Regions from separate parts of the Homo sapiens genome. Here regions 1, 2, 3, 4, 5 and 6 are each linked to region 7. The links are contacts of gene promoters, found by promoter capture Hi-C in blood cells and fetal thymus (Javierre and others, 2016). All regions are on one chromosome and are shown on one strand. The core of a region is centred on a gene start or on the middle of the fragment in contact, and the rest is flanking DNA. Distances in the headings are between cores, read along the strand shown. Region 1 has its middle 94 kb from the start of GPR26. Region 2 overlaps LINC02641 (long intergenic non-protein coding RNA 2641). Region 3 overlaps LINC02641 (long intergenic non-protein coding RNA 2641). Region 4 overlaps LINC02641 (long intergenic non-protein coding RNA 2641). Region 5 overlaps LINC02641 (long intergenic non-protein coding RNA 2641). Region 6 overlaps LINC02641 (long intergenic non-protein coding RNA 2641). Region 7 holds the start of HMX3 (H6 family homeobox 3).

Region 1 (3,633 bases), core at 853-3,352, 440 kb after region 7:
TCTTCTGCCCGTTTCCTGGCCCACAGCAACCTGGAGAGTTGTGCTCCTGGGGAGGTGTCGGAGGTAGTGGAGTCTCTAGTCCCAGGTCCCTCTCCCGCCTTTGTGGCCTGGATGTGCCAATACGGTGATGAGCAGACTCCAGGGGCCCAAGTGATCAACTTCTTTAAGATCTGAAAATCCACGTATTTGTCTATGGGGCCGTGTTTCACAGTGGTTCCAGCGTCTTCTCTTGTATCATAGACGCAACAACCTAATCATGCAGGAGACTCCGGTCCAAGGTGTGTTTGGTGGCTGCACACACACTGAGATCCCCAAGACCCAGGATGGCTGACCTCATCAGGACCTGTTCGGGACCCTGAAACAACCCCTCCTATCACAAATGCCCAGATTCCACCAGGCTGGGCTACAAAACAGGTCCCCATGCTCAGCTAGCAGCTAGCAGCTAGCAGCAGGTCTCAGGCTTTCTCAGGGTAGCCTGAGGCCATGAAGCCACCCCCTTCACTTCTCCCTCTGGAAGCCTGCCTGGGGGCCCCTCTGCTCTGCTTCCATGGCCCATGGGGCCTCTCTTCCCACTGGAGTGGGAAGGAGGGACAGGGAGGGTTTCTGGGGAGGTGCACTGAGCGGTCCCGGGGGCGGTAGCTCCAGCTGACCGAGTTTGTTGTATTTTACCCAAACCTCCCACTGGAGTTGAGGCCCAGTCTCAGCCATGGCGCACTGTGTCTTTGCCTCCTTTGCCTCCTTCATGCACGTCTCTCCCTTGGGGACCTGGCCCGAGTTCGGACTTAATATCCCTCAGTGAAACCACAGCTTCAACCAAGAGGGGGCAAGTTCTGTCATGCAGTGCGGGGAGTGTCACGTGAGAGCAGGGCTAGGAAGCAGTTTAGGAAGTGGGAGGGGTCGGTCTGAAAAGCTTATTTTAGGGGACATTTCTAAAAAAAATCCTGAATTTTGTTCCCATTGACCCAGAGAAACATGGACTTCATGCTCCTCAAATTTCCAAACTTCAAGATCCAGCAGAAACTGATGCTAAGGGGTGGGTTGGGGTGGGGATCGCCTTCCCCTGAGGTCCCCTACCCCTGATTTAGGCTTTTCTGCTAGGGACAGACCTGTCAGGGTGGTGGGGGCTGGGGTGAAGGAAGCTGGACGGGAGCACAGAAGCCTTCAACCCTTCTCATCTCTGATTCTTCCTCAAGGGATTCAGAACTTTTTTTAAAATCACAGCGTCTGCTGCAAATCACAGGCAGGGGAGTAGCACCCCCAGGGCCGGGTAAAGCAGCAGCTATTTTCTAGCAGATGCATTGATTTATATTTCTTTATGGAACTGTATCTTCCTATTCTGTTATTTTTCACTTTGAGTAAAAATTAATTGTCTTGTTTAACCAAAAACACGACGGAGAGAAGGGAGAAAGGGAAAAGGGAAAGTGGCAGGGTTTGTGAAAGGAGCAGGCTTCGGAGTCTCACAGAACCAGGACGGGATCCGAACCCCAGCTTCACAGTGGGCTCCAGTGCTGTGTGAGCGTGGGCAGGTTACTTCCCCTCTCTGATCTGCAGCTCCTCACACATCTGCCTGGGGGATGATAAGCCACACATCACAGTGTTCTCAGGAAGATGACAGGAAATAGTGGATTTCAAGGTGGTAGCACAGAGCAGGTGCTGGCGTTTGTTCCTAAGTACCTCTCAGGAGCCACTTTGCCAAACGCATCAAAAGTAGAGATGTTGATGAAACCAGTGTGATATGAGCCTTGGTGACAGTCGCTCTGCCTCCTGATCAGAGGAGGGCTGTGCTGTCTTGGCAGAGTTGGAACCCTCAAAAGTAAGGTCAAAACTTCATTGGAGACGACATCTGGAGAGGAGAGGAGAGGAAGAGGAGGAGGAGGACGAGGAGGAAGGAGAGGGGAGAGAGGAGGAGGAGAAGAGAGGAGAGGAGAGAAGGAGGAGACAGGAGAGGAGGAGGAGAGAGGGGAGAGGAGAGGAGAGAGGGGAGAGGAAGGGAGAGGAGAGGGGAGAGGAGAGGAGAGGAGAGGAGAGAGGGGAGAGGAGAGGAGAGAGGGGAGAGGAGAGGAGAGAGGGGAGAGGAGGGGGGAGAGGAGAGAAGAGAGGAGGAGGAGAGGGGAGGGGAGGAGGAGGAGAGGGGAGGAGGAGGAGAGGGGAGGAGGAGGAGAGGGGAGAGAAGGGGAAGGGAGGGGAGGGGATGGTAGAGGAGAGGAGAGGGAGGAGGTACTGCTCAGGAGGCAGGAGGAATGGGCTCATTTGGGCCCAGAGAAGTGCCCCTGGCTTGAATACATTGTTCCAAGCAGGCCCTGACTGTGCCTTCACCAGTACTGAACACCAGGTCCAGCTTTTCACCTGGGCCATCTCATCAGTGACCAACCCACAAGAAAATCATTATTGCTTCCACTTTACAGAGAAGGCAGCTGAGGCCCAGAGGGATTTAAACAGGGCCTGACCAAGGAAGGCCTGCAGCGGGAGGTAAGGAGGCAGGACCCACTGGCGAGAAGGTGTTTTTCCCCCTTGACGTTTCTGTCCTGTCCGTGGGAAGCTGGGGGATTCTGCCCATGCTTCACCTCCCAGGGAGGCAGACATGTTGAGAAACACTGGCAGCTTCTCCCAGCACCTGCCTGATGCTTGTCCCTGTCACAGGAGGAGGGTTGCTAAGCTGTTTGGTCGGCGTCCACAGCATTTGCTGGAGGGCATGGTGACTGTGTTTCAAAGGTGGATGCCCATGTTCTAGCCCCGCTCTGTGCTTCCTCCACCAGGGGGCAGCCGCTCTCCTGCTCCCATCCAGGAGGCACACCCTACCTGCTAATCCAGCGCCTCCCAAACTTCCCCAGGATCTTGTTAACAGGCAGCTTCTGACTCAGCTGTGCTGGGGCGCCCGGGGCTGGGCTAGTCTGTCTCCCAGCTGATGCTGGTCAGAGGACCACATTTTGAGGAGCAAAGCAATGGGTTACAATCTTAGCTCAACACCTGGGGAAACCATCACCTGGGGATTATTTTAAAAATACTGGTTTCCAAACCCCACTGAGAAATATTAAATTACAGTCAGTTTAGAGGCAGAACCCAGGAAATGAATGATTTTTGATGCTCTTCAGGAGAGTCTAACATGCAACTAAAGTTGAGAACTACTGTTCTAGAAGCAGGCTTGCCTCTCTCTGCCCACCTGTGACCAGGCAGGTAGTGGGCTGATCTAGGTAAGTGTGCCCAGATTTTGCCTGACAGATCCAGCCTCTGCCTCCTCTTCTCCCAGGGCACGCCGGAGACTCCACATTCCAAAAATATGAGTTGCCCTTGACTGGAAGCTTTTCTCTTCAATGGAGCTTTTTTACCCAAGGTTCACATTGGAGGTTCTGGGCATCTGGCCAGACAAAACAGCCCTATACTTCCCACCTGGCCATTTTTCTTTCTGTGTTGGCTCCATCATCCAGAGCCCTGCCAGATGGAGGAGTACCAACATCTCAGACTTCTGAAAGACTAGAACCCCAAGTCTGTGTGCTCTCTGAACCTCTCAGCTTCCCAAAGAGGGAAGATGGGCCTCTCTCTCTCTGCTGCAGGTAGGGAAGAACCACGAGATGGAGAAGCGGCAGCCCGATCACCCCCAAACCTCGTCAGCATCCCCACCTGGCCCCAACCTGC
Region 2 (3,617 bases), core at 1,057-3,556, 380 kb after region 7:
GTTGAGAGCTGTGTCCCCAGCCCCTGCCACAGAAGCCTCAAAGGCCATGACATGTTTCAGGCGGACGAGAACCACCAGATCAGACCAAGACGGAAGACCTTGCTGGGCAGAGCCACTGAGATTTGGGGATTTCTCTGTAACCGCTCCTTGCTTGAGCTTCCTTGACTGGGTCTCAACAGAACTTTTGCTCATTCTCTGGGTAGCTGAGTCCATCCCTGCCTCTGGGCCTTTGTACAGGCCATTTCCTGAATGCTTTTCCCTTCCTGCTGTTGGCAAACTCCTTCCCCCTTCAGCCCCAGCTCCCTTCTGTGCTGTGTGGCTTCTCTGGCCGACCACGGCCAAGTTCCTCGTGCTCTTCCCAGGATTACTGCAGAGAAACATTCCTGCCCCTGGTTCATGCATAACTTCACTGGCGCTCTCTGTTATGTGCCTGTCTCCCCCAGTAATTTGGGATGTCCACAAGGGCAAGGCCCATGTCCTCTCCTTCTTCATAGCCTTAGGGCTTTACCCAGTGCTGGGTATATATCAAGTGCTCAGTTAATATTTATTGCATGAATGAATGAGTGAACAACTGGAGTTGGGGTCCTTGGTGGCTTTGCTCTCTGAGCCTTGCCTGCCTCCCTTGTTCCCTTGTTAGGATATTCCACATTCGTGGCTGAGCCTGTGGAGCCTGGTGTCATGAACTAGCTCCCAACAGGGTCACAGACAAATGGAATTTAGCCCTGCTCTTCAGCCAACTTAGCTTGTGGCTTTGGGAAAATCACTCGTTCAGGGTCTCTTGCTTCCTCATCTCTAAGGTACACCAAAACATCTTGCCCAGGGAGCTGCTTGGATGGGTGCTCATGCAGGATGAGGGTTCTCTGATGGTCAGGGCTGCAAGTGGGAGTAGGTTCAGTCTGTTTCTCTCCAGCAAGGTGAGCTGGGTGGTCCCATCTCTGCTCTGATTTTTTGTTCCCTCATCTTTAGAGTGAAGGTGCTGCACTCAGCCACTGGCAGCATTACTGGCAAAAGCCACTGTGGCCACAGTCTACAGCTGGGCCACATTCAAACTCAGCTTCCTTAGGAAACCCAAGCACCTTACTGAAACACTCACAGCTCTTGTCAATCACCTGGAAATCATGGGTCCCACCATGAGCAGAGGATAAAAGCCATAGCATCGAGGATCAGTGCTCAGATGCATGAGCCGGGAAGCCCCTCGTTAGGGCTCCCCCTGCTAGGTTCTAGTACATTAAAGAGTCCACCAGCACACTAAAAAAAAAAAACCTGAAAGTTATACAAGCTTTGTTTGCTGTCACTGGAGGCAAAGCCAACACATACATGGACATATCAATAATCAGGATAAAGTTTTGATGTGAAGTAAGAAAATTATCACTCGTGATAGAAATTGTTTCTATTCATGTTTCTTTCTTGAACAAATGCACGCTTGTTTTTTTTCCCCAAAGTTCCAGATTGCTGCCCTTTTCTTAACTTTTCAAAGAAAACTTAAGTACTTTGAGCACAACCAGTGTTGAATATTTTCCTTTGTCAGATACTACTTGAATCTATATTTTAACATGTTCCCATTATATTTCAAAGAGTAGGCATGATTGCTCTTGAAAAAAACGTAAGACCAAAGACAGGGTCTTGTCTATTATCCCATCCTCCACCCCAGAAATGTTCTCATCAGAGCTAGCTGGGTGTCATTGATTAAATCCTGAATGATGAATCGTAAGCTCCTTTATTTTATACCAGAAGCGACTGGTAAGTGGACGTAAATTGATTTTGGAGAGGATGCTAAGTGATAATCCTTCCCAGGTTTCCAGTAAAGAAAATATACCTATTTGAGGGAATTTTCAACTTGGGTTTGAACCTGCTGATGCCTTTCTGGAGTCCAAGTGGAAACTATGGCGCTTTTGTGTGCCTGTCAGACGTCTTGCTTAATGCCGAGGGAGGAATGATAAATATGCAGAATGCTTTGATGTTAATACCAAACAGGCCTCCAAAGGAGTGGAGTTGAAGGCAGTTGACACTGTGGTTTTCATCCCTCGGCAGGGATCGAACGGATGCTTGAAAATAAATGGCACCTGTGGAGAAAGTGCCCCATCCCTGATTATGTCATCGGAGCCTCTGGTCCCCACACCGGCTGGAGGGCCCTGGGCTCAGCACTCTGCCTGACAGGAAGATGTGAATGCGGGCAGGGGATAAAAGACAGTGACTCACTTTGTTTTATTTTGTTTGCCAGGAAGCCTTTCTGATGAGCCCAAGCAGCCATCACTAAAAGATCCGTGTGAAATGGAGGCTAATCTTCTGCAGGCAGGGATATGAAAGGAGAGGGTCTTCTAGAAATGCAGAGACGCCTCCTCTTGACTGAGTTCCTTTCCCCATGGGACCTCAGTTTCCCCATCTGTGAAATGAGGGGGTTTTGTAGGTGATCTCTAAGATGCTGTTATTTGCCATTAGCTAAGAAGATGAAGTGCCGTATGGTCCCTTATGGTGGGGATAGGCAGCTTGTGTGGGGTCAGGACTGTCCCTTACGGTGGGGATGAGCAGGTTTCGTGGGGGAAGGACTGTCCCTATGGTGGGGGTGAGCAGCTTGCATGGGGTCAGGACTGGCTTCTTTGGAGGCATCTGTCTCAGCCCCCCTCAAGGTTAACCTCATTTCCTGGTGGGATTGGTGAGTGGAAAAGCCAGAGGGTGAGGAACCAGGGCCTTCTAGGATGCCAAAGACCCTGTGCAGAGGTTGTCTGCTCTGTGGGGGCTCTAGGCCTCTCTCCTTTATCCAGGGAAGCTCTTCAGCACTGGGGGAGGAGAAGGGTTTGGGGAATGGGAGGCCAGCCCAGCATTCAGGAGCCCAGATCCTTGGTACTTACCAAACCTCTTTGTGCACCTGCCCCAAGTGCTCAACGTGACACCCAGGGCCATGCCTCTACTTGTCCTGCCTCCTGGTCTGGGCTGTGTTATGACTTAGGGGCCCTAGACATTTTTGTCTTCAGAAACCCTTTCTCCATAAAAAAATTAGCATTTTGTTTTACAACTGCATTGGTCTAAAGATGAATATAACCCAGGCTTGATGTGTTATTATGCATTCATTATTCTTATATTTCTTTCTTTCTTTGAATTTTAAGATAAATAAAAATGAAAACACTTTCATGGACCCTTAAAGGTTGTCCTGAGCCCTGTGCCTGATGAATACGTGGACTCTGCTCACCAAACTCCCTATGAAGTCCGACCCCTTTAGAAGCTGCAAACCTACCCTTCAGATTTGCATTCCCAATGACTAACCCCTGCCCAGTAAGAGGAGCAGAAGGGGATGGGAACTGTTTGCTGAGTTGTGTATATGAACTCAGCTGGGAGGGAAGCTTGGGCCATCCTGGCATCAGAGGACAGCCCAGCCCAGGCAGGCAGGCAGCCTGGTGCAATGGGACAGTGTGTGGCTTGGGGTCAGGAACACTTGGACTCTCACCTCTACCACCCCCTTCCTATCTGAAGGACCTGGGCCTCAGTTTTTTAATCTGTAAAATGGGACTAATGCCACTTTGACCACAGGTTTCCCAAGGTACATGGCACTGGATTAGTGGGAGCTCTTGTTGGAATGTCACATGTATCATGACCACAGGATTCATATTTTCCAGGAATCC
Region 3 (3,693 bases), core at 731-3,230, 310 kb after region 7:
GAGCCTCCACCTAGGGCATAGTTGGCTGCCATGCTGTGAAGGAGCCTAGGGCATGGGACAAGGGCCTGGATGTGGGAATGGCTGTGGGCCCCAGGAGGCAGGGACAGGCGAGCCGCCCCGACCTCACAGCTCCCCAAGCACATGCCACCCCCGTAAGCCTACCAGGTAAGACACAGCATACCCAGCCACATTTGAATTTCAGTTAAACAACAAATACGATCTTTTAGTATAAAGTGTGTCCCCGATAATTTCACTTACTAAATCTGACAACCCTACAGTCTTGCCAAAGGAACTCTGGGCTCCAAACCCAGAAGGGCTTAGGGCCTCAGCCTCCCACTCTTCATGGAAACTGAGAAAGCCCCAACAAGGAGGAGGGAGGAGGGCCAGGCCTGCCAGCTCTGCAGAGAGAGACACTGTCAGTGTAAGTTGGCAGTTACGGATGTAGGCTCAGAAGCTTGACTGCTGGGTTCAAATCCCAGCTCCAGTGCTCACTAGCTGGGAGACCTTACAGCAGTGGCCTAACGTTCTGAGCCTCAGCTTTTCCATCCACAGAATTGGGAATGAAGGGATAGCTCCTGCCTTTCTGGGCTGTTGTGAATCTATTCATGTAGACGGTGTATAGTGATCTTGTCCGGGTCGTACATGGCAATGATCCGTGCAGGCAGTGGTGGTGGTTGCTGTGTCATTTTTGGATGAGTCTGGGGAGGGGGCCTGGGTCGTGGCTTCTGGTCCAACCTCTGTCACGAGCTTGCAGGATTTCCTTGGGCTGGTCCCACCTACCCATTAGGGCTACAATTGTCTATGTGTACAGAGCAGGTTGGACTCAGTTCATTGCAAATTAATTAATTAATTAATTAATTTTGTTTTGGAGATGGAGTCTTACTCTGTTGCCCAGGCTGGAGTGCAGTGGCGTGATCCTGGCTCACTGCAACCTCTGCTTCCTGGGTTCAAGCGATGCTTCTGCCTCAGCCTCCCAAGTAGCTGGGATTACAGGCACGCACCACCACACCCAGCTAATTTTGTATACTTAGTAGAGATGGGCTTTCACTATGTTAGCCAGGCTGATCTCAAACTCCCGACCTCAGGTGATCTGCCTGTCTTGGCCTCCCAAAGTGCTGGGATTACAGGCGTGAGCCACTGCGCCCAGCCTATCTATTTATTTTTGAGACAGAGTCTCACTCTGTTGCCCAGGCTGGAGTGCAGTGGCACAATCCCGGCTCACTGCAACCTTTGCCTCCCGAGTTCAAGTGACTCTCCCGCCTCAGCCTCTTGAGTAGCTGGGACTACAGGCGCATGCTACCATGCCCAGCTAATTTTTTTTTTTTTTTTCTAGTAGAGACAGGGTTTCACCATGTTGGCCAGGCTGGTCTCGAACTCCTGACCTCAGGTGATCCATCCACCTCGGCCTCCCAAAGTGCTGAGATTACAGGCATGAGCCACCACACCTGGCCTCATTACAAATTTAAAAGATGTTTTATTTGAGTAACAGAACCATTCTCCAAAAGAGAGCTCACAAAGAGCCCCAGCAGATAGACGGCCAGGTGTGGTAGCTCATGCCTGTAATCCCAGCACTTTGGAAGGCCAAAGTGGGCGGATCACCTGAGCTCAGGAGTTGGAGACCAGCCTGGCCAACATGGTAAAACCCTGTCTCTACTAAACAGACAAAAAATCTGTTGGGCATGGCGGTGCATGCCTATAATCCCAGCTACTCGGGAGGCTGAGGCAGGAGAACAGCTTGAACCCAGGAGGTGGAGGTTGCAGTGAGCCAGGATCCCACCACTGCACTCCAGCCTGGGTGATAGAGTGAGACTCCTTCTCAAAAAAAGAAAAAAGAAAAAAAGAACTCCAGCAGATAGAGATTAAACAAACAGAGCTGCTGGGGTTCAGAGGTGGATGTGTGTGTGTGTTTTATGGGAGGCGCTCTGGGTTAGTCCCCTGCCCTGCCCTCCTCACCTGGTCCATCTTGTGGGCATCCCCTAGGTGAGGCCAGAGGAGCTCCGTGCTGCTAGGAGATCCAGGCAGAAACATCCAGGAGTGGAAGCTCAGCCCAGCGGCTGGGAGGCTGTGGCACCTCCTGTCCACATGGCAGGCCAGGCCGAGGTGGGCTGGCTACACAGTGGGGCTCCCCCTCTCTGATAAGGTAAGCAGCTTGTTCATTGTCCCAGTGTCACTTGGGTCCCAGACAACCTGAGAGAGGGAGAAGGGGCTTTGTTCTCTTCGTTGCCTGGGGGTGGAACAGCCCTCTCTCACTCAGGGCCTTCTAGGTTCTTGTTTAATTAATCCTTCCTCAAACTCCATTCTCAGATATTGAAGTCTACACTCGAGTCCCCATTTTGTGGACAGGCAGGCTGAGGCCCAGTGGGGGCACCTGCTTGGGCCACACGGAGCCAGGGAGGGCTGAATGAGAACCTCCTGCCATCTTGGTGGTGGTGATGTGGGGCCCTGAGGGGTCATTTGTGTAGTCCCAGGGCTTGATTAATGGGGGCTAGACTAGGGGGCTCAGTCTCTCACTTTAGAAGCTGGGGAAGGACACCCACAGAGCTTCAGCAACTTGCTCAGCTCACATCACAGGCCAGAGCCAGCAAAGGCCCCATGCATCTCCCCAGGTTGAGTCAGTGACACCCGCTCAGTCAGCAGACAGCACCTCGAGAAAAAAATGATGTCTTCTTCTGCACCCTTTCCTGCCTGTAAATGGGCCTTTTGTTAAAAGCTCTGCCCTGTAAAACATGTAAGACACCTACCCTGTGTCCAAATTTCTTGCATTTCCTTTTCCTTCCCCTCCCCTACTCCGTCCCTGCATCAGGGACTCAGACATCTTCTAGGTCAAGTCTACCTTTCATTGGTGATGGGCAAGGGTTACCAATTGATGGGGTGACTCCTTAATCTTTAGGCCAGTTAACCCAAGAAAATCAGACCTTGCTAGTGACAGAGGAGCCCCTCCCTGGCTTTCTAGTTGGCCTCAGCGGTGCTACTGGTGAAGGTGGTGGTGAGATGTATGGACCGCCTGGTTATCTGTTTAATCCCCACTGCTGCCATTTGATTGTAATGGGGCCAGGTGGAAAGGGTCAGGTGTCATCATTCAGCCATTTATGCAGTGAATATTTACTGGGCACCTACTCTTTGCCAGTCTCTTGACTGGACAGATACACCCATGAGTCAATCATGACTTGTCCTCTGAGGAGCTCACAGTCTAGAGAGACAGACATGCAGATATCAGAAAATAACCTGAGTCAAAGGTGGCAGAAGCAGGACACACATAGTGGTGTGGGCATAGAGAGATGAGAGAATGTTCAGGCTTAAAAACATCCACATTATTTTTGCCTTTTGTAAGGCCAAACGGGGAGAAGGTGACAGAAGGGACGAAGATGCCCCAACCTGGAACAAGTCAATCATTTTAAAATTTCATTGCTGAACCCAACATAATTCAGACCTCATATCTGGCGAATGCATCAGTTCATTAGAACACAAAAATACACTATCAAACAGACAATCAAATTTCATGTAAAATAAGCTTCAGCATTAAAATGGTTCCTGGTGTTTTATGTGTGTGACTCGGTGGGCAGATATATTTCTTGCTACTAGAGCAAGACTGATTTGTGTGAAGGCTCCCGTCACCAAATCACTCGGAAGGCTAGGAGATAAAATGTCGCTTAGGATAATGTAATTGGCCTTAAGGTACAGGAGTTGAATTAT
Region 4 (3,393 bases), core at 750-3,249, 340 kb after region 7:
TTGTAGGTGGGTCTGGTGGGAGGTGGTCAGGTCATGGGGGTGGATCCCTCATGAACGGCTTCGTGATGCCCTTGTGGTAATGAGTGAGTTTTGGCTCTATTAATTCACGTGAGAGCTGGCTATTTAAAAGAGCCTGGCATCTCTCTTGCTCTCTCTCTCTCTCTGTCACCATGGGACACACCTGCTCCCCCTTCGCCTCCCACCATGAATGGAAGCTTCCCAAGGCTCTCACCGGAAGCAGATGCCAGAGCTATGCTTCTTGTAAAGTCTGTAGACCCATGAACCAAATCAACCTCTTTTCTTTATAGATTACCCAGCTTCAGATATTCCTTTATAGCAATGCAGAATGGACTAACACACTCCTTTATAGCCTTCCACTCCAAGCCTGGGCTTCTATTTAGCATAATGCTCTAAAATTCACTCCTGTTATAGCCATCAGTAGTTTACTCCTTTATTGCCAAACAGTATTCACTTATTTGGATACCCCACCATTTATCTTTTCCCCAATCAGTGGACATTTGCATTACTTGCCATTTTTGGCTATTGTGAATAAAGCTTCTCTAAACATTGGTGTGTAGCTTTTGTCTGTACTCGAGAGTGAAATTGCTGGGTCCTATGGTAAGTATGTCATCATATTCCTGCTCAGAGAGGTGGCTTCCTGCAACCAGTTTTCTTTTCAGGATCCAGATGGGTCCCAGGGACCCTAAAATAAGGCCCCTAGTTCTGTCCTTCCTGGGAAGGGAGAATGTTATATACGGTGGAAATAAGGAGATGATCAAAGTATGATTTTTTGAATTTCATAGTGTATTGCCGTACCAAAAAAAATCTCTTCTTAGGGTCACGATGCTTAAAGAATAAAGAGAAGAAAGCTCACAGGGAATCTGCTTGATAGATAAAGTACATTAACCACTTAGTGAGTGGGTTCCAAAATTATTACAGTCTGGTTGCTCAGTTAGGATGGAAGCAGGTCTCTCTGGGGAAGGTAAGGTCTGAGTAAAGGTTGGAGTATACCTTCCTACAAGCAGCTCTCAGAGAAGCTGGCTCAACCATCAGGGCAGAGATCTGGAGGTCCAGCGTAAGGACCCTCCATACTGGGGGACTGTGCTGGAGCTGGTGATTAGTCCCGAGGCTAACAGGGTGTCGCCTAGTTGCACCTGAGCTCTTGGTGTTGGAGAAGCAGCTGTGATGGCAGACATACTGGTTGTCTTTAGAAGCAGCCAACTGTGTAGACTACCACGGCCTAAGCTCTCCAAATGTCCATTAAACTCTTGGTAACAGAATATGTATTCTGAAGTCCAGTAGTTGAGGTCCATAACTCACAAATGGGAATTCTGATAAGGTTTGACATCACATTCCTGAGAGGAGGGAGTTCACTCCAAGTTTTCACACAGAGTGTCTGATGAGATATCCCACTCTCAAAGGGAGTGTGGAATACACAGTAAAACATATGTCATTCATGTAGCAAACTATGTAAGTGCTTGAGATCATTTCAAAATGGTATCACAGGAAGGCCTGTGCTTTGCCTGTGGGTTAAGATCTACCTGTCCTGGCCTGGAGTAATCTCATAGTGCTCAGAGGTTGGTCATTAGGCCCTCCCAATGACACAGGCAGTTGGGAACTGGGGATAAAACTAGCATTCAAAAAACTCACATCTTGATATTCTGAGCCGATGACCTAGAATAATGGTTCTTGGTTTGCAATGGCTCTTTTTAAGGGCCTTCTTCAAAGGGCTTCCTCCCAGGTGCCCCTGGGTCCCTGATGGTGGCAAATGGCCCGTCTTCTTTTTTCTTAGTAAAGTGGGTCTCATGCTAGATTAAAATTTCTGGGTGCTGAGGTGAGGAGGTAAGGCCACTTCTCACTGCCTAGCTGGAAGGCAGTTAAGTTCTTCCCAGTCAATAGGCCTCTATCGACCTGCTGTTAGAATTTTACTAGGCTGGGGAATTGTGAGATCCATATATTGTTTGAAATGGAAAAGAGGAACGAGTTAGGGAAATGTCCAGGCAAATGTCTGTGTGTTTGGAAACAGAGCTATTCTCTTCCAGGTCTTTTCTAGTGGGGTCATTTGCATGCCCATCTGATAGCAGGGGCACAGCCAGGCCCAGCAGATATAACCCATCTGGACCTTTGAATGAAAAATAAACATTGGCTTCTTTTAGTTTCCAAAGGTCATTTGCATAAAAACTTGCAGGATTTCCAAGGCCTTGGCAGTGGACTGGAGAGTGAGAGGTGGAGAAAAGGAGGTTTGCATGACACTGGGACAGCAGAACAAAGCAGTTCAGGTTAACCCTTATTGCTTCCTTGTAAATTCGCAAAGATGTGAAGTCCAGAGAAGTCAGGGTGGGGGCCCTGATCCTTGCTCTGGTTCCACTTCTAATTTCCCACTTGACCCTTTGGACCTTAGTTTCCTCTTCTATAAAGTGAGTGAATGAGCCAGATCTCTGAGGTTGTTCATTCATTCAAGCCATTGGCATTTCTTGAGCACATATTATGTGCCAGGCACTCTGCTAGAACAGTAAGATGCAACAGCGCAGACAAGGTCCCTGCTTTCAAAGAGCTCCCAGCCCAGTGGGGAGTCAGATGGGCCAACAGACACCCAGCCCGCACTGTCACAATGGTGTTCAGGAAGAGAGAGAAGCCTCGTGTTGGGGGATAGGAATGACCTAGGCTGGGTGGCATAGGGTAAAGAAAGGTTTTCTGGGGTAAGCAATGCTAGTTGCCAGTTCTGACTGTAAAGTCTCAGACTTACCCACCTGCCCTTTCTGAGAGTTCTTGATTGGAGACGATCTGGGGGATCATATCCAGATGACAGCCAGCATGTCTCTGATATTGACAGACTCCTCTTATAGGTGTAAGTAAAAAGTTCTAAGTGACATCTGCATCTGAATTAGGGCTGCCTTCTCCTCCCTGCTGTCCTCTCTCCTGGGTTCTCCATTAGATCTTCCAGAACAGAAACATGGAGTTCAGTTGGCAGTGGAAGTGATTTCACCCCAGCCTCGACCTTGGTGTCTACTGGGCGGTGTCTCCGCTCAGGCCCAGCCTCTGGGTTTAAGATACCAGAGTAAAATGTTGATGTTATTGTAAGTGCGTAGAAAGAAAAAGAGGTGGTAATGCTGGCAGAAATTACCCTAAGTTCATTTAAAACATCCTGTGCAAGAGTTAAAATCTAAAAGTAAAGGAAATAATTGCACATTTTGAAAAAAATACTAGCTGAGGCCCTCCCAGCCAAGAGAGAGGGTACCATCAGCAGAAAGAGCTCTGAATGGGATCAGGAGACTTGAATTCTGACCCTACCTTTGTCTCTCACCAGGAAAGGCCTCCAGGACTGAGTTTTCCCATCTGTAAAATTCGCAGGTTGGACCAGGCAGGTTGCAGGTGTCTTTGGTGCATGAATCT
Region 5 (3,669 bases), core at 482-2,981, 290 kb after region 7:
GCCACACTGTGGCATGTGTTGGTACTTCAATCCTTTTTATGGTTGAATAATATTCCATTGTGTGGATTTACAACATTTTCTTTATCCATTCATTAGTTGATGGATATTTGGGCTCTCTCCACCTTTCGTGTATTATGAGTGGTGCTGCTGTGAACATCTTTTGACGTTTTTGTAAAATCACAGCTAGAGACAAGTTTAGGGCCCGGTGCCCTGGACATGCCAGCTTTTCCTGGTGGTCTCCTGTACACCGTTAACATGGAAAAGGGCACTTTACCTCTACTCTGACAAGTTTAAATGGAAAAACTCAGGGACAGTGTCTCTGTAGGCGTCTCTCAAACCCACCTCTTAAAAGCCCACCCAGAGGTTGCTTAAGAAATTACTAGGTAATTGAAGCAATAACTTTCAAGACCAAAATATATATTTTCCTCTTCCATAGAACACAGCGCCCATAACTCCTGTGATGCTTTTAGCTGTTCTTGGGAATAAACTAACGACCCCTCTCCTTCCCTTCTGCTGAATGAAACACCGGAAGGAAAAAGTGCAAGCCAATGGGAATCATAAACAGAGAAGAGAGAAATGCTTTTTAAAAAAATTCTCAAAATATTTAAACCCAGAAAAGTGCAAATAAAATCCAGCACCACTGGCCCCAGGAGTCGGAGCGCTGGTCTTTTCTGTGCTACCTGAGGTTTGAGTGTGCAGTTGCGGGCATATGGGAGGGAAGGCTCCTGCTGTCAGCATCGAAAGCAGATACTCATTTAAATTCCAGTTGCATGCCTGAACGTTGTTTCTTCCGGAAATGTCAGCTCTCTTAATTCTTTCCCCTTTTAAACAGATCCAAATGATTTCCCCTTGATTGAAGTAAAAAGAGTGTAAATATTTTAGCATTTCATAAAACTGGAAACATTAGAGGCTACTTTCACAGTCATTTGAATAACAGCAAGCATTTCCTAGACATTCTAATCAATTAACTTTCCAGGGTAATTTTTCAAGGGAGCAGAATGGTCCAAAACCAGGCCAGTCACACTGTTGCCTGCTCACGTTTCTGTCACTTTGGTCATGGGGAATTTACCTATAAAGGGAAAGGGAGACTTCTCTTGCTTTGACCACAATAAATTGAGTGTGTTTGCGAGGGGCAGAGTGGTGGCCGTGGAAGCTAGCGTGTGTTTAGGCCCTGTCTGGGGCACGTGGAGGAACAGCTTTCTCCTTCTCATTGGCATCAGGATTAAAGAGAAGAAAATGGGTTGCTGTCTTTTCTACCTACGCAGCAGAAGGAGCATTCACAAATGAGAATTTCCCCAGCCCCAGCAGGGTGTCTAAGGAGCTACTTTGTAGAGTGTAATTTCATGTAGTATCTAAAAAAAAAAAAAAAAAAAAAAAAAAACTCCTTGCCAGGGTTCCCTCCACTAAAGGCCATTTGGAAGAACTTGGCAAGCTTAACGATGCCCTGAAAGGTTGCAGAGAAGAAAATGTATGGACATCAGCAAGTACCAGGAAGGATGCAGGCTTTGCCCGCAGAGACTTTGGAAGGCGCTCAGGTGTCTCCTGCAGGAACCTCCACCTGTGACAACACAGGCTCAGCCTCTGGGTGGAAACCCAGATAAGGACTCTGTCACCAGATTTCAAATCGTGGCCTATGTCTTTGGGCTGTGAGTTGGGGAGAAATGTTTAATTTTTACTTGAGCCTCATGGAGATGAGGGGAGCTACAGGCTGCTGACAACTATTTCTGATTTGTTTGGCTCCTGGGTGGGAGGGAGGCAGGAAATTGGAACAGGTCGCCCATTAGGAGCTAATGCGTGCTTAGGTCTGGTTGGCTGAGCTGCTTCGGCTCACCTGGCCAGGGCTTCTGTGCTTCAGGAGGGGCCTCACCTTGGGAAGGTGTGAGGAATGTCCCAGCCAGCAGAGATGCCAACGTGGAAGAGGGGTTGGAGACAAGGAGGCTCCGTTCCCCTGACCTTAAAGACCAAGAATGTGGAGAGCGGAGGATGAGAGAGGAGACGAAGTGTTTCATGTCTCCTCGCCCAAAGAGGGCTGAAGCTTTGCATCTAGCAGGTACCCAGGACCAAGAACACAGGCTGAAGTTCCCCCTCGCACTGAGAGATGCCTCCTCCCTGGCCAGAGATGACAAATGTGGCAACAGAGCCATAGATATCCCGAGTCGGGAGAAGATGGACAGGGAGAAGTCATTAGCAGTGACAAAGGGTCTCCGTAGTTGAGCATCAGTCGCCTAAAAATGATTGCTAAGGTTAAAGCTGGCAGTGAGGGAGAGGGAAGGGGAGACCGGCAGGGAGATGGGACTGTGCCTTGGGCTATTTTATCTGAGATGGCAGAGGTTCAAGACAGCGCAGCCTCCAGTCCGCACCTTCCACAGCCTGGCCAGGGAATTTTCTGCCCTCTCTGTTGGCATATTCAGGTTGGAGCCCTGCAGGAGAAGATCGCACACTGCAAATTGAGCAAGTCGCTGTGATTTCGCAACTGGCTGCGCTTCTGCATTTCTGAATAGAGAGTGACAGGAAAATCCTAACATGAGCTCGAGAAATACTGTCTCAATTAACCGTCTTTATTACTGCATAGCACTTTGTTTTATTATATACTTTCATTGGCAAACCATAGCAAACAATTTCACTTCAGCAAACAACATTATGCTTGTTCCAGCTCCTTTTCATTTTGCATTTATTTTGTCATAAAAATAAAAGACAAGGAAACCTCTCATTTATCACTAGATCAAAAATTTTCCTGCCATTTCCTTGGGAGGAAAAAAAAGAAGAAATTAAGAAAATTTAGGGTGATGCTTCTAGTACCTAAACATGAAAGTATCAACCGATATGTTTTTGAAAATTGAAAATAAAATTATGGAGAAAATGCTTTATTTGATTCTCTGTTTATGGGAAATTCATTTTATTTGACTTTTTTATTTGTAATATCAACTATGGAGCAGAGCACAGTTTGCAAGGTGTTCCCTGACAGTCTCATTCTTCTAAATTATTAATGCCGTGCTGTTGATATATTGTCAGCCTTGTACCTACATTCTATGAAAATGAGTTTTACAGTAGGTTGGGATTTATAACAAAGCTTGACATATGCAGCTAATTCACCTACACAGTCCTGTCAGTTTTAGGTTCATAAATAATTGATACTCAAGGCTTGAAGTTCAGCTACTGTTAGTACTTCAGCTGTTAAATTTCAGCAGCATAATGGATGAATATTTGTTTATAATTTCTGTACATGGTCCCGATGTCAGCTCCCTTGCTTCATTTGCATAGGTAGATTGAGATGTTGGAAGTGTAATGAGCGCGTGAAGATGACGAATTGTTTGCCAGGATGCCGGTGCGGTTCTGTAAATGTTTGATTAGTTCTGAATGGATTACTGTTAGATTATCTGGTTCAGAGGTTAACATGAGCAGCTCTTTGCTCCCGGAGCTTTTGTGATCCCTTGCTGACAGATTTTAAAATTCATACCGTGAGATCAGAGCTGCAAAGGCGAGGGGGTGTTCTCGGCAACAGATGTTTGGTAATTAAGCATACGGTTTCCTTGTTTTGGAGAGCTGGAGGAATTTCAAATTGGCAGGATTTGTTCCATTGGAGGAAGCTCGAGTTCTAAAGAAAATATTCTTACTCCCCACCTAGGTGTTAGTGGCTCAGCTTCCCAATGACAGTAACTGGAAGAAGGA
Region 6 (3,260 bases), core at 719-3,218, 360 kb after region 7:
CTGTTTTGCTTTCCACTTCCCCTGGTGCCTGGCACAAAACTGAGGCTGTCTGATGGCCAACACTGCATCTTCCTTGCCAGGATTAGGGGTGAAGAAGGTGGTGCTGGTTGGAGTGGTCCTCTCCTCCTTGCCCACACAAATAGTGAGGAGGCAGCCTTCTCTCCTGGCCTAATCCTGGCTGGTCATTCACAACGCACAGGTGTATTCACCTTGTCCTGGAGGCTCTGCGAAGCTGCCATCATCTTCATTGGGCTTTTCTTCTTGGCTCTGGCTATTGGAGGTCCCCAGCCTTTTTTCTAGGCACAGGGACAGAGTTCCCATCTGAGGACTCACCAACTTCCTCTGTGGGCAACTGATATGAAAGGAATTCAGGGTCTGTGGGCAGAGTTTCCATTAAGTGTTGTTTTCATTCTCACCAAACCCATCTCGGCATCTTTGTAGCACTCAAGAAAAATGGAAACCACTAATTTCCCTGGCAGCAGATAAGACCAATGAGTTATAGAATTTGGTCATTCCCGCAAGAAAGGTTTGGAAGAATTGCTTGGGAGGCTCAGGGAGGGAGAGGAGCCATCTGACTGGAGGCATCTGGAAGAATTTCATGGATATACTTGAGAAGACCCTTGTGGGACAGGTGGGGTCCGCAGGTGCAGTGAAAGGCAGGCCACCTCTGTGGAGGCTACAGCCTGGGAACAAGCTGTGTTCAGGGAGCAGCCTGTTGTTCCATTTGGGACCACAGCCAGGGTGTAGAGAGATGTTGGAGTGACCATTCTGGCCTTGCAGTCCTTGTGCAGTGACAGGCAGGAAGCAAAGAATGAACTCTGTGGGAAATTATGGAATAAAAAGGGGTCTGCATGCAAATTGTGGGCAGCATCAATGCCAGGGTCAGAAGGAGTTAAAAGCCGGCCTCTCCTAATTTTCCTGCTCGTAGGAAGCCATCTGAGATCTCTGAGGCTGATGGGCATTCTGCTTTAGGAAAATTAATCAAAAGTGAGTACTCTATGTCTTCTGGTCAACTTGAATTCTTTGTGGAGACAACTTAGTTGAGATGACTCCTCCTGGAATTCTTGGTTCTTGGGCCTCAGCACTGTTTCCTCTTCCACAATTATTCTCTTGACATCTTGGAATTTAGAATGTATTAAGACATGCCGCTCATTCCCAGTCCTCCTCCCCCCACCACTCTGTGCAGATCTGGGGCTAACGGGACTGTGGACCTCCTTTAAGGAAAGGTGCAGACCAAGGATCAGCCCCCACATTTTTTTTTTTTCTATAAAGGGCAGATAGTAAATAATTGAAGCTCTGTGGGCCATACAGTTTCCGCCTTTACTACTCAACTCTGCCACTGCAGTGGGAAAGCAGCCATAAACAATACATGAATGAATGAGCGTGGCTGGCTTCCAGCATAACTTTATTTATAAAAACAGCTGGTGAGCTGGATTTGGCCCGCCTCTCATAGCCTGACGACTGTTAGTGTAGACAGTCAAACGGCTTGGGTCCCAACTGTCTTTTCAAGCCACCTTGCCTCTTGGCTCCTACACAGGCCTGTCTTGCTGCTGAGATTCAGAGAGGGGGCTAATGCTGGCTTCGCCTGTCCCCAGAGGGGTGTCAAACCTGATGATGCCACCTTGACAACCATATTGACTTGGTCCAAGCACACAGACTGTTTGAGGAGTGTAATAGAATGCAGAAATATGCCCAGAAACGTTGACTTTAAGGGCACATGTAAGTGGGCCTGGAGTTTCCATAACAGGGCCAGCACCTCCTGGTCCAACTTCTCATCATTTCACAAAAGGCCATTTGTCAGAAATTCCTTCAGTGTCCACTGTTGACATTGCTGTCACTCTCTACTGGCGAGTCCCTATCACTGATGTGACGGACAGTTTAAAACATGCTTAGAACGGCTGTCAGCCATCCTTTTGAGAAAAGCCCACCAGGACCCGATTAAAAACAGAGCTTGTAGCTGAAGCCGTTCTTGCCTTGATGACACATAGTAAGTGGCAGGTAATCCTCCTCCTAATCTCCTCACTGCCCCACAAGGCTTATGGTAACTGATATCCCTGTGAATGCCACGGAGTCTGATTGAGTTACCTGGAGAGGCCAGGGCTTCTTCCTGCCCCTTTCCTAATGGAATGTATTTAGATAAAGGCACCTTGAAGTTGGCCACAGTCTCCTGAGATGTTGCTCTAAAGGGAAAATTTGATTTCCCCTAAGCTGCAGCCGATATTACTTTTTTATTTTCCCTGAAGCATTTCACCCAACATGCCTCGCCTGGCCATTGCACACCTGTCTACAATTACAGCCAGGGGGTGGGGCAGGGAGGACCCCTGGGGCTTAACTGCTTCCTATTGTGGCTGCAGCCTTTGATTCCAGGGTCAAAGCAACCCTTGCTGCTGGGGGATTTTACTTTCAAAATTCTGACTTTTCCCACCACGATTAAGAACTGCTTTGTAGCCTGTACTGCTGCTGACACGAAGGTTTAATGGACCCGTTGGGATTGGAAGACCAAGTGGTTTGATTCAGTCATTTGTGAGTTTGTCCCTGCTCCTGGAGCCTCTCACTGGAGACATGGAAGGCAGCCCTGTGGAGCAGAAAGAGCCCTGGACTGCTCCTTGGAACCTGGCCTCTCCTCTCTGTGTCACTGACTTACTCTGGGGGTGACCTTGACCTGGTCCCTTCCCTCGGCCCATTTGCGAAACAGGGAAGCCTAGTTAAAAGATCACTCAGGTTTAGGGGTGCCAGACCTAGCAAATAAAAACACAGGATGCCAAGTCCAATCTGAATTTCCAATGAACAATGAATAATTGAATATTATTCAGATGAACAATGAATACTTTTTCTAGCATAAATTATGCTCCTTGCAACATCAGAGACACACTTTAAATATTATTATTTATCCAAAATTCAAATTTAACTGAGCATACTATATTTCACTCTCCTCATGTTGCTTTTACCTCAAGTAGTTTCTGAATCCATACTTTGAGATACATATTTTTGGTTTTGCTATCCAGTGGCTTTTGGTAGCCACAAGCAAGGGATAAGTGTGAAATGTCTAGATAATTCTGAAAATGTATCTTCCCTGACTTGTACTCAAGCCCAAACCCATGTCTTTGGAAACATTGCTTGGTGACCGTGTCTTCAGTGCATGGTACCTGGTAGATGCTCCATGAGTACTGGCTGAATGAATGAATGGATGGCACATTTCAACCTTTGTATGACCTTCGTGTAATACATGCTTCCATTTAACAGAGCTACCAGGTCTTCCT
Region 7 (3,388 bases), core at 63-2,562:
GTTAGACAGCTCCAAACGCCAGCTGGCCGGAGAGACTTCCTGGGAGAAAGTGCTGTCGTCGGGGTCACAGACTCGGAGTTGATCCGCGAGCCTTGGGCACCGGCGGCCAGAGCAGAGGGGTGCCCTTCCGAGAGCAGCCGTCGGTGCCGAGAAGCTGTTGCCCCAGCAGCCCCACCGAGTGACGCGCGGGTTTTGGCCGGGTCAGCGCGCATACGCACACAGGCACACCCACTCCTGGTCCCGGGGGAAGGCTCACTCTTCGGTTTTCCAGGGCTAAAGGCCAAGGCCACGCGGATTTCTGAGTCCGAAGACGCAGTGCGAGGACTTACACCTGGATTCCCTTACTATCGGCTGGATGGTGGGTGGGGAACCCAAATCCCTCTCTTCTTGGCCTCGCCCTTCCTAGCAGGCTTTAGGAAAAATACCGAGGTCGCCGGACCCCAAAGGGTAGGAAAATGATGAGTTCTCCGAGGGCCGAGGTCACGTCCTGCCTCTTGGGCCGGCGCTGCGTGGCTCTCCAGCTGCGTGGGGGCGGCGGGCCCCTGTCCAGCCCCAGGGGGCGGGGGAGCGGCAGCTGCGAGCGCAGATAACCCCGAGGTGACCCGGGAGGGCCTGGTCCGCCCCTCCCCCCTCCCGCAGGCCTGGCGGCGGGAAGCGGGTCCCTGCGCCGCAGGGGGGAGAGGCAGGCGCGGTCTCCGGGCTCGCGGCCGTTAGTGCGCTTCGGCCAAGGGCGCCGCCTGCTCCGCGTCCCTCGCTCGCCTCCTGCGCTCGCAGGAGCGCTCCGAGTGCCTCTTTAGCGGGAGCCAATATCCTTTTGTGCTAATAGGCTTGTCCTCATTTGCTGCCTAATTGGACTATATAAAGCCAATAACGGGCGGGCTCTTATAGCCCGAAGCCAAAGCGCCAAAATCCGAGGGAAGGCGAGGAGGGGGCGGTGGCGGAGGCGGCTGCGGGGCCGGGGCTCGGCTGAGCCTTCGCCTGCCTAATCCCATTTGCCATTGTACGCGCCCAATCGCCGTATACTCCCCGCATTTAACTTGGATGACATTTTGATTTCATCATTAGCATCCGGCGCCGGATTGACGCAGCCTCGAGCCGGGGACTGCTCTTGCTGCCTCCTCCGCGGGAGCCGCAGCCGCAGCCGAGCCGCCTCGATCCCTCGGTGCCGCGGCAGGGCCGCTCCCCGCCCCTCCGCACCCCTCCCTCATGCGAGCCCGCCCGTCTGGGTCCTCACTCCGCCCTCCCGCCGTTGGATTTGCGCCCGGGGCGGCCCCCGACTTTGCGCCCCGTAGTTGAGTTCCGTTTATGGTCTGATTTCCGGCCTCTCGCCTGCTCGCCCCGCCGCCCGCCTGTCCCGCTCCCTCCCTCCCGGGGACCCGGAGGAGAGGGGACCATGCCGGAACCCGGGCCGGACGCTGCCGGCACCGCCAGCGCACAGCCCCAACCGCCGCCGCCCCCCCCACCCGCTCCCAAGGAGTCCCCGTTCTCCATCAAGAACCTGCTCAACGGAGACCACCACCGGCCGCCCCCTAAGCCTCAGCCGCCCCCACGGACGCTCTTCGCGCCAGCCTCGGCTGCCGCCGCCGCCGCCGCTGCCGCTGCCGCGGCGGCCAAGGGGGCCCTGGAGGGCGCCGCGGGCTTCGCGCTCTCGCAGGTGGGCGACCTGGCTTTCCCTCGCTTTGAGATCCCGGCGCAGAGGTTTGCCCTGCCCGCGCACTACCTGGAGCGCTCCCCAGCCTGGTGGTACCCCTACACCCTGACCCCCGCCGGCGGCCACCTCCCGCGACCTGAAGGTACCGACCTCTCTTTGAACTTTCGTTGTCCCCCTGCGCGCCCGCCCCGTCCCCGCCCCGCGCTGCTTCCCTCCGCAGTTCTGGGACCCCAGCACCCGCAAACCCTCTGCTCGGTCAGTTTTTTTCGGCCCCTAGCCTGCCCTCGCGCTGGGTTGCGCTGCCCGTTAATCCAATCCCACTTGGTGAGAAAAGAAGTGGAATTGGAGCCCCGGGCACGGTGCTTCCCGGGAAAAGTGGCCTCGGGCGTGAATAGGGAGGCTTCGGACGGCCGGGGCTTGGGACACGGCCTGGAAGGAGGGGGTGATTCCAATGCGCCTAAGCCGAAAGGGAACCGTTCTGCCGGCCCCTGGCGAGGAAGCTGAGGGAATGGAAGGAGGTGGCCGCGCTACCACCATCTGCTTGCCTGTCCTCGGGAGGAGGGGGATCCCAGGACTCGGCGTCCCTTCTCTGGCCCAGCCGAGAAGGAGGCAGCCCGCGGGAATGGTGAGGCCTCATGGCCTGGGACCTGGAGGCCGGCGCGGGTTGAGCCTGCCGTCCCCAGGCGCCGGGCCTCGCTCAAGGCTGTGTCGGTGTGCATGTGTGTGCGTCCGTCTGTCTGTCTCCCCAGCCTCGGAGAAGGCCTTGCTGAGAGACTCCTCCCCCGCCTCCGGCACAGACCGCGACTCTCCGGAGCCACTGCTCAAGGCCGACCCCGATCACAAGGAGCTGGACTCCAAGAGCCCGGACGAGATCATTCTGGAGGAGAGCGACTCCGAGGAAAGCAAAAAGGAAGGCGAAGCGGCGCCAGGCGCGGCCGGGGCGAGCGTAGGGGCGGCGGCGGCCACTCCGGGCGCAGAAGACTGGAAGAAGGGCGCTGAAAGTCCAGAGAAGAAGCCGGCGTGCCGCAAGAAGAAGACGCGCACAGTCTTCTCGCGCAGCCAGGTCTTCCAGCTCGAGTCCACCTTCGACATGAAGCGCTATCTGAGCAGCTCGGAGCGAGCCGGCCTGGCCGCGTCCCTGCACCTCACCGAGACGCAGGTCAAGATCTGGTTCCAGAACCGCCGCAACAAGTGGAAGCGGCAGCTGGCGGCGGAGCTGGAGGCGGCCAACCTGAGCCATGCCGCGGCGCAGCGCATCGTGCGGGTGCCCATCCTCTACCACGAGAACTCGGCGGCCGAGGGCGCGGCGGCTGCAGCCGCGGGGGCCCCGGTGCCAGTCAGCCAGCCGCTGCTCACCTTCCCGCACCCCGTCTACTACTCGCACCCGGTGGTCTCTTCCGTGCCGCTGCTACGGCCGGTCTGAGGCCCCAGAGGGGTGGGGGAGGGAGCGCCCGGCCTCCTTGTCCGGACCCCGGAGGAGACTGGGCCGGGCCGAGGGCGCCGAGAAGTCCAGCGGCCTTCAGGAACTGGGGCTTGGGCGCGCAGCCTCTGCTTCCCCTCCCCCAGTCGGTAGCATTTTGTAAGTATTTGCAATGCATTTTCGTGCAATTCATCCCTAATGGATTGGAGGCGCTTCCCCTCTTACTTTTGGTTTTTGGCTTATATTAAGAGAAAGCAGGAACAAGACAAAATTTTCGGGTCAGAGATTTCGGCCGATAGTTTTTGTAAAATGTGCAG

The links. The method cuts DNA at HindIII sites, captures the fragments that hold promoters and counts their contacts. A CHiCAGO score of 5 or more calls a contact.
Region 1: a fragment that was not itself captured here is called in contact with the fragment with the promoter of HMX3 in region 7 in 16 of 17 cell types (M0 macrophages, monocytes, M2 macrophages and 13 more); the score reaches 13.3 in M0 macrophages.
Region 2: a fragment that was not itself captured here is called in contact with the fragment with the promoter of HMX3 in region 7 in 12 of 17 cell types (M2 macrophages, total CD4 T cells, naive CD4 T cells and 9 more); the score reaches 10.9 in M2 macrophages.
Region 3: a contact is called between a fragment that was not itself captured here and the fragment with the promoter of HMX3 in region 7, in 1 of 17 cell types (M2 macrophages). The highest score is 6.8, in M2 macrophages.
Region 4: a contact is called between a fragment that was not itself captured here and the fragment with the promoter of HMX3 in region 7, in 3 of 17 cell types (M2 macrophages, M0 macrophages and M1 macrophages). The highest score is 7.9, in M2 macrophages.
Region 5: a fragment that was not itself captured here is called in contact with the fragment with the promoter of HMX3 in region 7 in 2 of 17 cell types (M1 macrophages and M2 macrophages); the score reaches 5.9 in M1 macrophages.
Region 6: a fragment that was not itself captured here is called in contact with the fragment with the promoter of HMX3 in region 7 in 2 of 17 cell types (M2 macrophages and M0 macrophages); the score reaches 8.7 in M2 macrophages.

Annotation. Positions count from the first base shown.
Region 1 is chr10:123,570,651-123,574,283 of GRCh38, forward strand. No RefSeq gene overlaps it. Among named protein-coding and RNA genes, the nearest start is that of GPR26, 94 kb to the right of the region's middle. The HindIII fragment of the contact is 2,389 bases long and covers 909-3,297 here.
Region 2 is chr10:123,515,593-123,519,209 of GRCh38, forward strand. The region is part of intron 8 of LINC02641 (long intergenic non-protein coding RNA 2641); the gene reads left to right. Among named protein-coding and RNA genes, the nearest start is that of GPR26, 150 kb to the right of the region's middle. The HindIII fragment of the contact is 2,059 bases long and covers 1,278-3,336 here.
Region 3 is chr10:123,447,373-123,451,065 of GRCh38, forward strand. LINC02641 (long intergenic non-protein coding RNA 2641) reads left to right here. Exons shown (of 12, transcript XR_007062326.1): 7 at 1,981-2,140. Among named protein-coding and RNA genes, the nearest start is that of LINC02641, 100 kb to the left of the region's middle. RefSeq lists an enhancer at 1-30. The HindIII fragment of the contact is 3,057 bases long and covers 453-3,509 here.
Region 4 is chr10:123,476,203-123,479,595 of GRCh38, forward strand. The region is part of intron 7 of LINC02641 (long intergenic non-protein coding RNA 2641); the gene reads left to right. Among named protein-coding and RNA genes, the nearest start is that of LINC02641, 130 kb to the left of the region's middle. The HindIII fragment of the contact is 2,893 bases long and covers 554-3,393 here.
Region 5 is chr10:123,425,147-123,428,815 of GRCh38, forward strand. All of the region lies in intron 6 of LINC02641 (long intergenic non-protein coding RNA 2641), which reads left to right. Among named protein-coding and RNA genes, the nearest start is that of LINC02641, 79 kb to the left of the region's middle. The HindIII fragment of the contact is 603 bases long and covers 1,431-2,033 here.
Region 6 is chr10:123,495,147-123,498,406 of GRCh38, forward strand. The region is part of intron 8 of LINC02641 (long intergenic non-protein coding RNA 2641); the gene reads left to right. Among named protein-coding and RNA genes, the nearest start is that of LINC02641, 150 kb to the left of the region's middle. RefSeq lists enhancers at 1,587-2,314, 2,315-3,041. The HindIII fragment of the contact is 7,946 bases long and covers 1-3,260 here.
Region 7 is chr10:123,134,658-123,138,045 of GRCh38, forward strand. HMX3 (H6 family homeobox 3) reads left to right here and starts at 1,313. Exons shown (of 2, transcript NM_001105574.2): 1 at 1,313-1,793; 2 at 2,401-3,388. The coding sequence starts at 1,394. The coding sequence ends at 3,074. RefSeq lists silencers at 482-601, 632-761, 1,142-1,221, 1,272-1,681, 1,692-1,741 and enhancers at 528-1,478, 2,661-3,388. The HindIII fragment of the contact is 8,924 bases long and covers 1-3,388 here.